2 separate regions of the Homo sapiens genome follow, and region 1 is linked to region 2. The links are contacts of gene promoters, found by promoter capture Hi-C in human tissues and cell types (Jung and others, 2019). All regions are on one chromosome and are shown on one strand. Each heading gives the region's core, a stretch centred on a gene start or on the middle of the fragment in contact. The rest is flanking DNA. Distances are from core to core; before and after follow the strand shown.

Region 1 (4,743 bases), core at 1,958-4,457, 130 kb before region 2:
CATTGGGGAAACTCTCTAGAACACTGTATTAGGCAAAGATTTCCTGAGTAATACCAACACACACAGGCAACCAAAGCAAAAATGGAGAAATGGGATCATATCAAGTTAAAAAGCATCTGCACAACAAAGGAAGCAATCAAAAAAGTGAAGAGGCAACCCACAGAATGAGAAAAAATACTTGCAAACTATCCATCTGACAAGGGATTATTAACCAGAATATATAAGGAATCAAACAACTCTATAGGAAAAAAAATCTAATAATATGATTTTAAAATGGGCAAAAGAGCTGAATAGGCATCTCTCAAAAGAAGACATCCAAATGGCAAACAGGTATACGAAAAGGTGCTCATTATCATTGACCATCAGAGAAATGCAAATCAAAACTACAATGAGATATCATCTCACCACAGTTAAAATGGCTTTTATTTAAAAGACAGGTAATAACAAATGCTGGCAAGGATGTGGAGAAAGGGGAACCTTTGTACACTGTTGTTGGAATGTAAATTAGTACAACCACTATGTAGAACCATTTGGAGATTCTTTTAAAAAACTAAAAATAGAACTATGAGATGATCCAGCAATCTCACTGCTAGGTATATACCCAAAAGAAAGGAAAGCAATATATTGAAGAGATAGTCACGCTTCCATGTTTATTGCAGCACTATTCACAACAGCCAAGATTTGGAAGCAACCTAAATGTCCATCAACAGACAAATGGAAAAAGAAAATGTGGTACATATACACAATAGAGTACTATTCAGTCATCAAAAGAATGAGATCCTCTCATTTGCAACAACATGGATGGAACTGGAGGCCATTATGTTAAGTGAAATAAGTGAGGTACGGAAAGACAAATTCCACTTATTTTCATGTCCTCACTTATTTGTGGGAGTTAAAAATTAAAACAACCAAACTCATGAGAGATAGAGAGTAGAAGGTTGGTTACCAGAGGCTGGGAAGTGTTGTGGGGAGTGGGGAGGAAGGAAAGATGGTTGACGGGTATAAAAATATAGTTAGATAGGATGAATAGTATTTGATAGTACAACAGAGTGGCTACAGTCAACAATAATTTATTGTACATTTTAAAATAAGTAAAAGAGTATAACTGGATTGTTTGCAACACAAAGGATAAATGCTTGAGGTGGCAGATACCCCATTACCCTGACATGCATTGTGTGCCTGTATCAAAATATCCCATGTACCCCATAAAAATATATGCCTACTATGTACCCACAGAAATTAAAAACAAAAAAGAAAATGGGACAGAACAGATAAGAAAACTAGAGGCTTCACTTAGAAATTTAATATCTGATGAATAGGAATTCTAGAAAGAGAAGAGAGAAAACAGGGAGGAGGAAAATTTATCAGAACAGAAGTGTATGGATCATCTAAGACAAAGGGCTCCCTAGAGGCTCAACAAGATGACTAAAGGAAGACCCACACCAAGGGACATCACTATGGAAATTAAGTCACTGAGGATAAAAGGAAGACCCTAGAAGCCTCCAGAGAAGAGTAATGGGGCATGCACTAAGGTCCAGGAGTCAGAAAGGCACCAGACTTCTTTAGAAGACCGAAGACAGTGATGTAATGCCTCAAACTTCTGAGGGAAAGTGATTTCTTTTTTTAAACAAAATTATTTTTACATCATCAAAAAGCATCAAGTGAGGAACATAACTTGTAACCTAAAATTCTATACCCAAGCAAAGTACAGATCAAATATGAAAACAAAATAAAGTGATGCTTTAAGAAATCTACACCTTCAAGTACTTATCTTCCACATCTCTTTTTAAAGAAGCTATTGGAAGATATGCTCCACCCAAATGGAGGAGGAAACTGAAAAAGAGGAACTCCAGTAGAAGAGAAAGGTGTAAGATATTCCCGGGAAGATGAGGATAGGATGTCTCCAGATGACAGCGGTGTATTGAGCCCAGAGAGGAGCCAACCTAGAGTGCAGAGGGGGGTCCTGAATATCTGTCAATAACAAAAGGGAATCATACCAAAAGGAGGTTCTATTAGTTTGAGATGAGTTAATACTAGGCACATAGAAAACTAAGTTAAAAAGAGAGACAATTACTAGTGCCAAGAATGAGAAAATGTACAAAAGTAGTAGGTATGTTGCCCTTTTGTCATAATTTACATAATAATAACAATAGAAGCATTGAATATTGATTTAATTCCCCCAAATCATGAGGTAACTATTTTGGAAGGGTCAGGAGAGATGTGTGTTATATCTTCTTCTTGTTCTTTTTTTTTTTTTTTTTTTTGAGGTGGAGTTTCGCTCTTGTTGCCCAGGCTGGAGTACAATGGCGCTATCTTGGCTCATTGCAACCTCCGCCTCCCCAGTTCAAGCGATTCTCCTGCCTCAGCCTCCTAAGTAGCTGAGATTACAGGCACCCGCCACCACACCTGGCTAATTTATATATTTTTAGTACAGATGGGATTTCACCATGTTAGCCAGGCTGGTCTCAAACTCCTGACGTCAGGTGTTTGTTTTTTTTGAGACTGAGTTTTGCTTTTTGGCCCAGGCTGGAGTGAAGTGGTGTGATCTTGGCTCACTGCAACCTCCGCCCCCTAGGTTCAAGTGATTCTCCTGCCTCAGCCTCCTGAGTAGCTGGGACTACAGGCGCACACCACCATGACCAGCTAATTTTTGTATTTTTAATAGAGACAGGGTTTCACCATGTTGGCCGGGCTGGTCTTGAACTCCTGACCTCAGATGATCCACCCACCTTGGTCTCCCAAAGTGCTAGGATTACAGGTGTGAGCCACCTCGCCCGGCCATATCTTCATATTTCATAGGAAGAAGTCAGTACGTAATATTCCAAATAGGATGGCAAAGAAATATCAACATACGGGTACTGTTTAGAAATTAGAACTAACTACAGGAAGAAAAAGCTAAATGGTTGGAAAATGCTTACCTTTGGGTAGCAGTTATGTGTGATGTGGAGCATTTGGCCAGGAGGCCACTGTTTTTTATTATAATCTTTGTGATATTTAATTTTTAGAAGAATTATTTAGGTATTATTTTTATAGAAAAATCAAATCAAATAAAATGCAGTGGGGGAGATGGGTGAATGGTATTGAGGGCTTCAACTATATTAATAATGGTTTATTTCTTAGGTGATAGGTATACAGGTGTTTGGTATGTTATTTATATGCATCTCACGTATCCAATATATAATTATTTTTAAACAGCAACAACAAAGCAGTGCTATTCAGAGAGGGTGACTGAAGGCCCAGGGTCATGGAATATAAAAGATGGGACAGAGCTTGAATGCAGACGTTAGCCTGGGGAAAAGGAAGGAAGAATAGTTCTGACCATACCAATGGGAGAGGGGTTAGAAAAGGTGGCTAGAGAGATATTTTGAATTGTAGTTGGAAAAAGTTGAGAAATTACAAGTTGAGAAATTTCTCAACTTCTTGTTGGCGGAAAATAGAGTTGGAGTTCTGGCTGAAGATAGGGAAGTTATAGGAGTGTATTTTTCCCTAGGGCTGTTGTAACAAATATCACAACCTTGAGGGCTTAAAACAACAGAAATATATTCTCTCACAGTTCTGGAGGCCAGATCTAAAATCAAGGTGTTGGCGAGGCCAGCCCCCCTCTGCAGGCTCTGCGGTGAATCCATTCCTTGTCTCTTCTAGCTTCTGGTGGCTGCTGGCATTCCATGGTGTTCTTTGGCTTACAGCAGCATCATTCCAACGCCTGCCTCCATCTTCACATAGCCCTTTCTGCATGTGGTGACGTATAATCTCCTTCTGCCTCTCTTTCATGGGGAGACTTGCAATAGCATTCAGGACCCACCCAGATAATCCAGGATTAGCTCCTCATTTCAAGGTGCTTAATTTAATAACATTGACAAAGTTCTTTCTTCCAAGTAAGGCAACATTCATAGATTCCAGGGATTTGATGTGGATATCTTTTGGTGGACCATTTTTCAGCTTGCCACAGAAAGTGATTGGATTTAAGGAAACAAATTATTTTTTATTGCTTCCCAGGAGAAATTCAGTAAGAAGTCAATAAAAGCAGAAAAATGGTTGCTGAATATCAATGAGATAGATCTGAATCAACCAACATGAATTTTTTTAATGTGATTTTTTTTTCAACAAGCTCAAATGTCTATTTTCTGTGATTTTGTATCAATTTTGTATCAAATGTCTTTTTATTTTCTGTGATTGCTTTATCACTTTGATCAGCAAGAAAACAGAAACATTTTATTAACAAATTTGTAGATTTTAGGTGTGGCAGGTAAAAAGAGATATGGAGAAAAATGTGTTGAATAAATATAAACCAATTAAAGCTTGGGTTGCAAATTTAAATTCTTAGAAATAGAATTTCAAGTAACAAACATCATAAGGGACAAAGAGGCATTTTATGGATTAATAAAAGGAACACAGACCAAGAAGACATAAACATAAACATATATGCATCTAGCAATATAGCCCAGGATTATATAATGCCAGGCAGTCCAAAAGAACTTTCTGCAGTGACAGAAATGTTCTATATCTGCATTGTTCAATACAGTAACCACTAACAACATGTGGCTGCTGAACACTTGAAATGTGGCTACTGTGACTCAGGAATTGAAGATTTAACTTTAATTAATTCAGACTTATTTATTTATTTTTTGAGACAGGGTCTTCCTCTATTGCCCAGTGGCAGGATCATGGCTCATTGTAGCCTCCACCTCCTGGACTCAAGCAATTCTCCTGCCTCAGCCTCTCAAGTAGTTGGGACTATAGGCG
Region 2 (4,427 bases), core at 865-3,364:
ACATTTGTTCCCTTCAATACAAAGATAAATCGCCTAATTAATATTTGCCCTTGACTTGTTCTTCATTAACCCCACCTGCCCTAGGATGAATGTTGACATGAACCCATTTTACAAATGAGAGCAATTTGTTCTCCCACAAGGCATCAGGTAAACACAGGCATGAGAATCCATGACCTCGTTGGAATTTCAGGGACTGTTTTTTTCCCAGAGGGTCATTTCTCCCTGTTCCAGGCATTGAGGCCAGTAACTATTAAGATTTCATCTCTTTTTTTTTTTTTGAGACGGAGTCTTGCTCTGTCGCCCAGCCTGGAGTGCAGTGGCGCCGTCTCAGCTCACTGCAAGCTCCGCCTCCCGGGTTCACGCCATTCTCCTGCCTCAGCCTCCTGAGTAGCTGGGACTACAGGCGCCCGCCGCCACGCCCGGCTAATTTTTTTGTATTTTTAGTAGAGATGGGGTTTCACCGTGTTAGCCAGGATGGTCTCCATCTCCTGACCTCGTGATCCGCCCGCCTCGGCCTCCCAAAGTGCTGGGATTACAGGCGTGAGCCACTGCGCCCGGCCTCATCTCATTTCTTTATCTGTGAGAGAAGCCACTATCACCCCCTAAGGGGCTTCGGTCACCAGCATTTTGTCTGTGTCCTAAATGCTTCAAGACTTACAGACCTGACTCAATACGCTCAGGTAGAAAAAGGGTGAAATCAAGAATGGCCAACCACTGGAACACTTTAGCCATTGCTCTGAGAGGTGGGTGGATAGAGTGGGCACTATGCTCCCTCCGACGGGGCTTCACTGCCCTGGACAGGGGAGAGACAGGCGGCTCACAGAGCATGTGCTGGGCCAGGGCCAGTCCCGCCCCCAGGCAGAGATGGCCAGTAAAATAACCACATAATTCCAGTGGAGTCGCCCTGGGGAAACCGAGGCACTTCAGTTCCTTTTCATCAAGGAACTGATTAAAGTGTGGTCTATTATCTCTGTAGTGGGGAGTCCCGAAAGATTCCACTTCTTCCTCTTCTTGCCCAATGAGAGGGTCAGGAAGCTTCCACCACCATCCTGACTGTGGCCACCACATCCTGGTGTGAAGCACCACCAGCTTCCTCCACAAGAACTCTGAAGGTCACCAGCCAGCTTGAGTCCTCCGAAGGTGCTGTGGCTCAACCAGCAGCCTGTGTAGCAGAGAGCACAAGACCTGGGACTCGAACTCAGTCCCACCTTCAAGAGGGATCTCCACCACTTTCTGAGCCTCAGTTTTCACATCTTTGGTTAGGGGCAGGTGGGAAGTTGCCATATTTACCTTGTTGGGCTCTTTGGAAAAATTAAATGAAATGTTAATGTATGTTACACAACGGGCTCATAGGAGGGATTCAAAAGCTGCTAGTTCTTTTTCTCCTTTTCCTGAAAACGGTATTAAAGAGTACTGTAGAGACACTGGAGAATTCCTGCTTCATATGAGATGTCCTTGGTCTCTCCCGGGGAATTTGAAGACCCAGAGACTCGCAGCTCCCCGTGAGCCTCCCCGCTGACGCCTTACCTCCCCCTCTCCACCATCCCCTGCCATCCCGGTGTACGCCACCCCCAAAAAAACTTTCAGCCAGCTCCTCGGTGAGGGTCGTTCCAAATCGTGGCCGACAGTAGCGGGCTGCACCCTCCTTAGATCGCGTCGTGGCCAGCCTCAGCTGCAGAACCCCGCCGGGCGCCCGGGAGCCCTGTCCCGCCGCGGCGGCCTCAGAGTCCGGGCACTTGGGGATTCTCTGAGGGTGCAGCCCTCCTGGGCCCCTCCGACTGCGGAGCTGCCGACCGCAATGCAGATGCGGGCCCTCCAGCCCTTCTCGCGCCGCCTTCCTCCCGCCAGCCCCGGAGCTGCCGGGTCCGCGCCGCCCCGGGGAGCGCTCCTCTCCCGCCCTGAGCGCAGGCCGGCTTCCCCATCGGCGCGCCGGTCCGGAGCCAGGGTCCAGCGCGCTCCAGACGCCTCTGCCTTCCCCTCCCCCTGTCGGCCGCCCCTCGGTCCCTGGGGGTGGGGTTTCCCTTTGCGCTCGCCCCCTCCCGCCCCCACCCCTCACGGGCCCTCCCCTCCCCCGCCCGTCCCTATGTATGTGTCACAGCGCGCCATGCCCGCCCGCCCGCCCACCTACCTCCCCGCCGCTCCAGAGGGGGCTCGCAGAGCTGAGGACGCGCGCAGCGCTGCTCAAGGTCTCTCTCTCTCAGCACCCTCGCCGGCCGGCGTCTGACGCGGGTGCCAGGGTCTCCGGGCACCTTTCAGTGTCCATTCCCTCAGCCAGCCAGGACTCCGCAACCCAGCAGTTGCCGCTGCGGCCACAGCCCGAGGGGACCTGCGGACAGGACGCCGGCAGGAGGAGGGGTGCGCAGCGCCCGCGCAGAGCGTCTCCCTCGCTACGCAGCGAGACCCGGGCCTCCCGGCCCCAGGAGCCCCCAGCTGCCTCGCCAGGTGTGTGGGACTGAAGTTCTTGGAGAAGGGAGTCCAACTCTTCAAGGTAACTGTCTCCTTCCCTCCAGAGCGAGGCTCTCCCAGGGCGCCCGGCGAGCCAGGAACGGGACTGAGACTGCACGCCCCGGGGCTGGGGGCTGCACTGCCTTGGTCTCCGCCCTAGAGCTATGTGTGCCGGGGGCGCAGCACATCCACCGGCTGCGTCCGCGGTGGAGTTGAGCAAACTTTTTGGCTGTTGCAGACTCAGTGAATGGGGCAAAGGAACACGTGAGGAGGGGCACTTGTCTCCTAGTCCGCCAGGATGAAGGAACAAGGGAGCCTTTTCTCCAAACACCTAGGTGATTTTAAATCCTAGGGTCTGGAAAGACCCATGGTTGACAGAGTAGCAGCTTCAGAGTCAAGGGAATGTGGGTTCAAATCCCCGAGGTGCTACTTTTGAGCTGGAAGGTGTGCTTCACCTTCCTGAGCCTTGGCCTGCCGTCTGTCAGCTGAGAGGGAAAAGGCCTTCGCGGGGTCTGGAAGAATAAATGAAATCATATGGACACTATGTCAGGGACACAGCGGGTCCTAAGCCGAGGCTAGATAGTCCATCCTTGGCCACTTGGCTTACTCCAGGGACCAGAGTGCCTGAAGAGTCTGCCCAGGGGAGAGTGGCAGAACCTGGGACAGAGCTACTGAACTGCCAGCAGGGGAGAGGAGAGCAGTGCCCTGAACACACGGGTGTCCAACCAAGAAGGGGCATTTCTCAAGGAAGAAAGGGGAGGGGAGTTGAGGACACACGACCACGAGCGGTTTTTCCGTCTGTGGGTTCCTCTTCAAACGAAGCCAATGCTGGTGGAGCAGGAGCCCTTTCCAACCCTGGGGCTGGGTTGGAGGCTGTCAGTATGTCAACTGAACCACACTCTGGGCAGAGCAAGCTGCGGGGGTGGGGGCTTGTCTCTGGTTGTGAGACAGGATCCAACCCAAACTTTTCCATCATTATCCTCCTTTCAGTCATGAGCTGGGTTCTGACAGGATCCTACTAGGGTTTCACCATGAAGAAGCTGGAGTTCCAGCATGTTGACTGATGTGTAAATTCTGGTTCTGTGGGGCTGGCTGCCAGGAGGAAAATACAAAGCTGAATTGGGTTAGCACGGTGTTTTGGGGTCCTGGGTGCTGCAGTGGGTGGGTGTCTGACAGTTTAGAGGGGACTCTGGACCTTGAAAATTCACCCACCTCGTCTGAAGAGGAGGGCAAGTGGACCCAGAAAGGTGCAATGAATTTCTGAAGGTTGAACTGTGACTTAGGGTCAAGGGCAGAACTAGAATCCAGGTTTTCTGAGGCCATAGTCGGTCCCTCGTCCTGATTTAAGAGTCCAGAATTCTTGGGTTCTAATCCTTATCTCTCTTTCTTGTCCTGGGTTGCCATGGACAAGGAGCAATCAGGTTGCTCATGCACCCTGGGCAAGGTGGGTTTGGAGGCACTATGAAGATACGGTTTAGGAGTGTTGGCTTGTCAATCACAGGCTCCAGGGAGAAACTGCAGGAAATGGAAAGGCAATGGGGAAGAAAACCCTGAAGCTCGTTGGGGGAGGAAGCATTGAGCGGCAGTGGGGAGGAGAGGTTCTAACCTGAAAGAAAGATTGCAGAATAGTAGATCTCCCCAGTATAAAAAGTTTCAGAAGAAGGAATTGTCCAAAGGAAGAAGATATCTCTTGGAGAGATGCTGGAATTCCACAGGTTACCTTGAGCTGTGTTTAATTTAGATATTCTTACGTGTAGTTTCTAGTGCTGTGCCTGGTATTTTCATTCATTCTCCAATATCTGCTGAGCGCCACCTAGGTGCCAGGCTCTGTGCTCAATGCTGGCCCACAGCGGGTACTCAATAAACAGCAGATATGAGATGACCCAAGCAAAGGGCTTAGCGTAGTGCCTGGCACTGGGCAAGTACTCAGTAACTGTTTCATATTATTAATATTACTATTATCATTCTTAATTCTAGTAGTA

What was found. Contacts are between HindIII fragments. The study calls those that stand out against the background at their distance.
Region 1: a contact is called between a fragment that was not itself captured here and the fragment with the promoter of ACAN in region 2, in 1 of the 25 tissues and cell types used here (H1 embryonic stem cells).

The regions. Positions count from the first base shown.
Region 1 is chr15:88,671,090-88,675,832 of GRCh38, forward strand. No RefSeq gene overlaps it. Among named protein-coding and RNA genes, the nearest start is that of ISG20, 34 kb to the left of the region's middle. The HindIII fragment of the contact is 3,597 bases long and covers 1,410-4,743 here.
Region 2 is chr15:88,801,322-88,805,748 of GRCh38, forward strand. ACAN (aggrecan) reads left to right here and starts at 2,115. Exons shown (of 19, transcript NM_001369268.1): 1 at 2,115-2,488. It overlaps LOC105370960 (a long non-coding RNA gene), which reads right to left and starts at 2,197. Exons shown (of 3, transcript XR_001751648.1): 1 at 2,129-2,197. The HindIII fragment of the contact is 7,348 bases long and covers 268-4,427 here.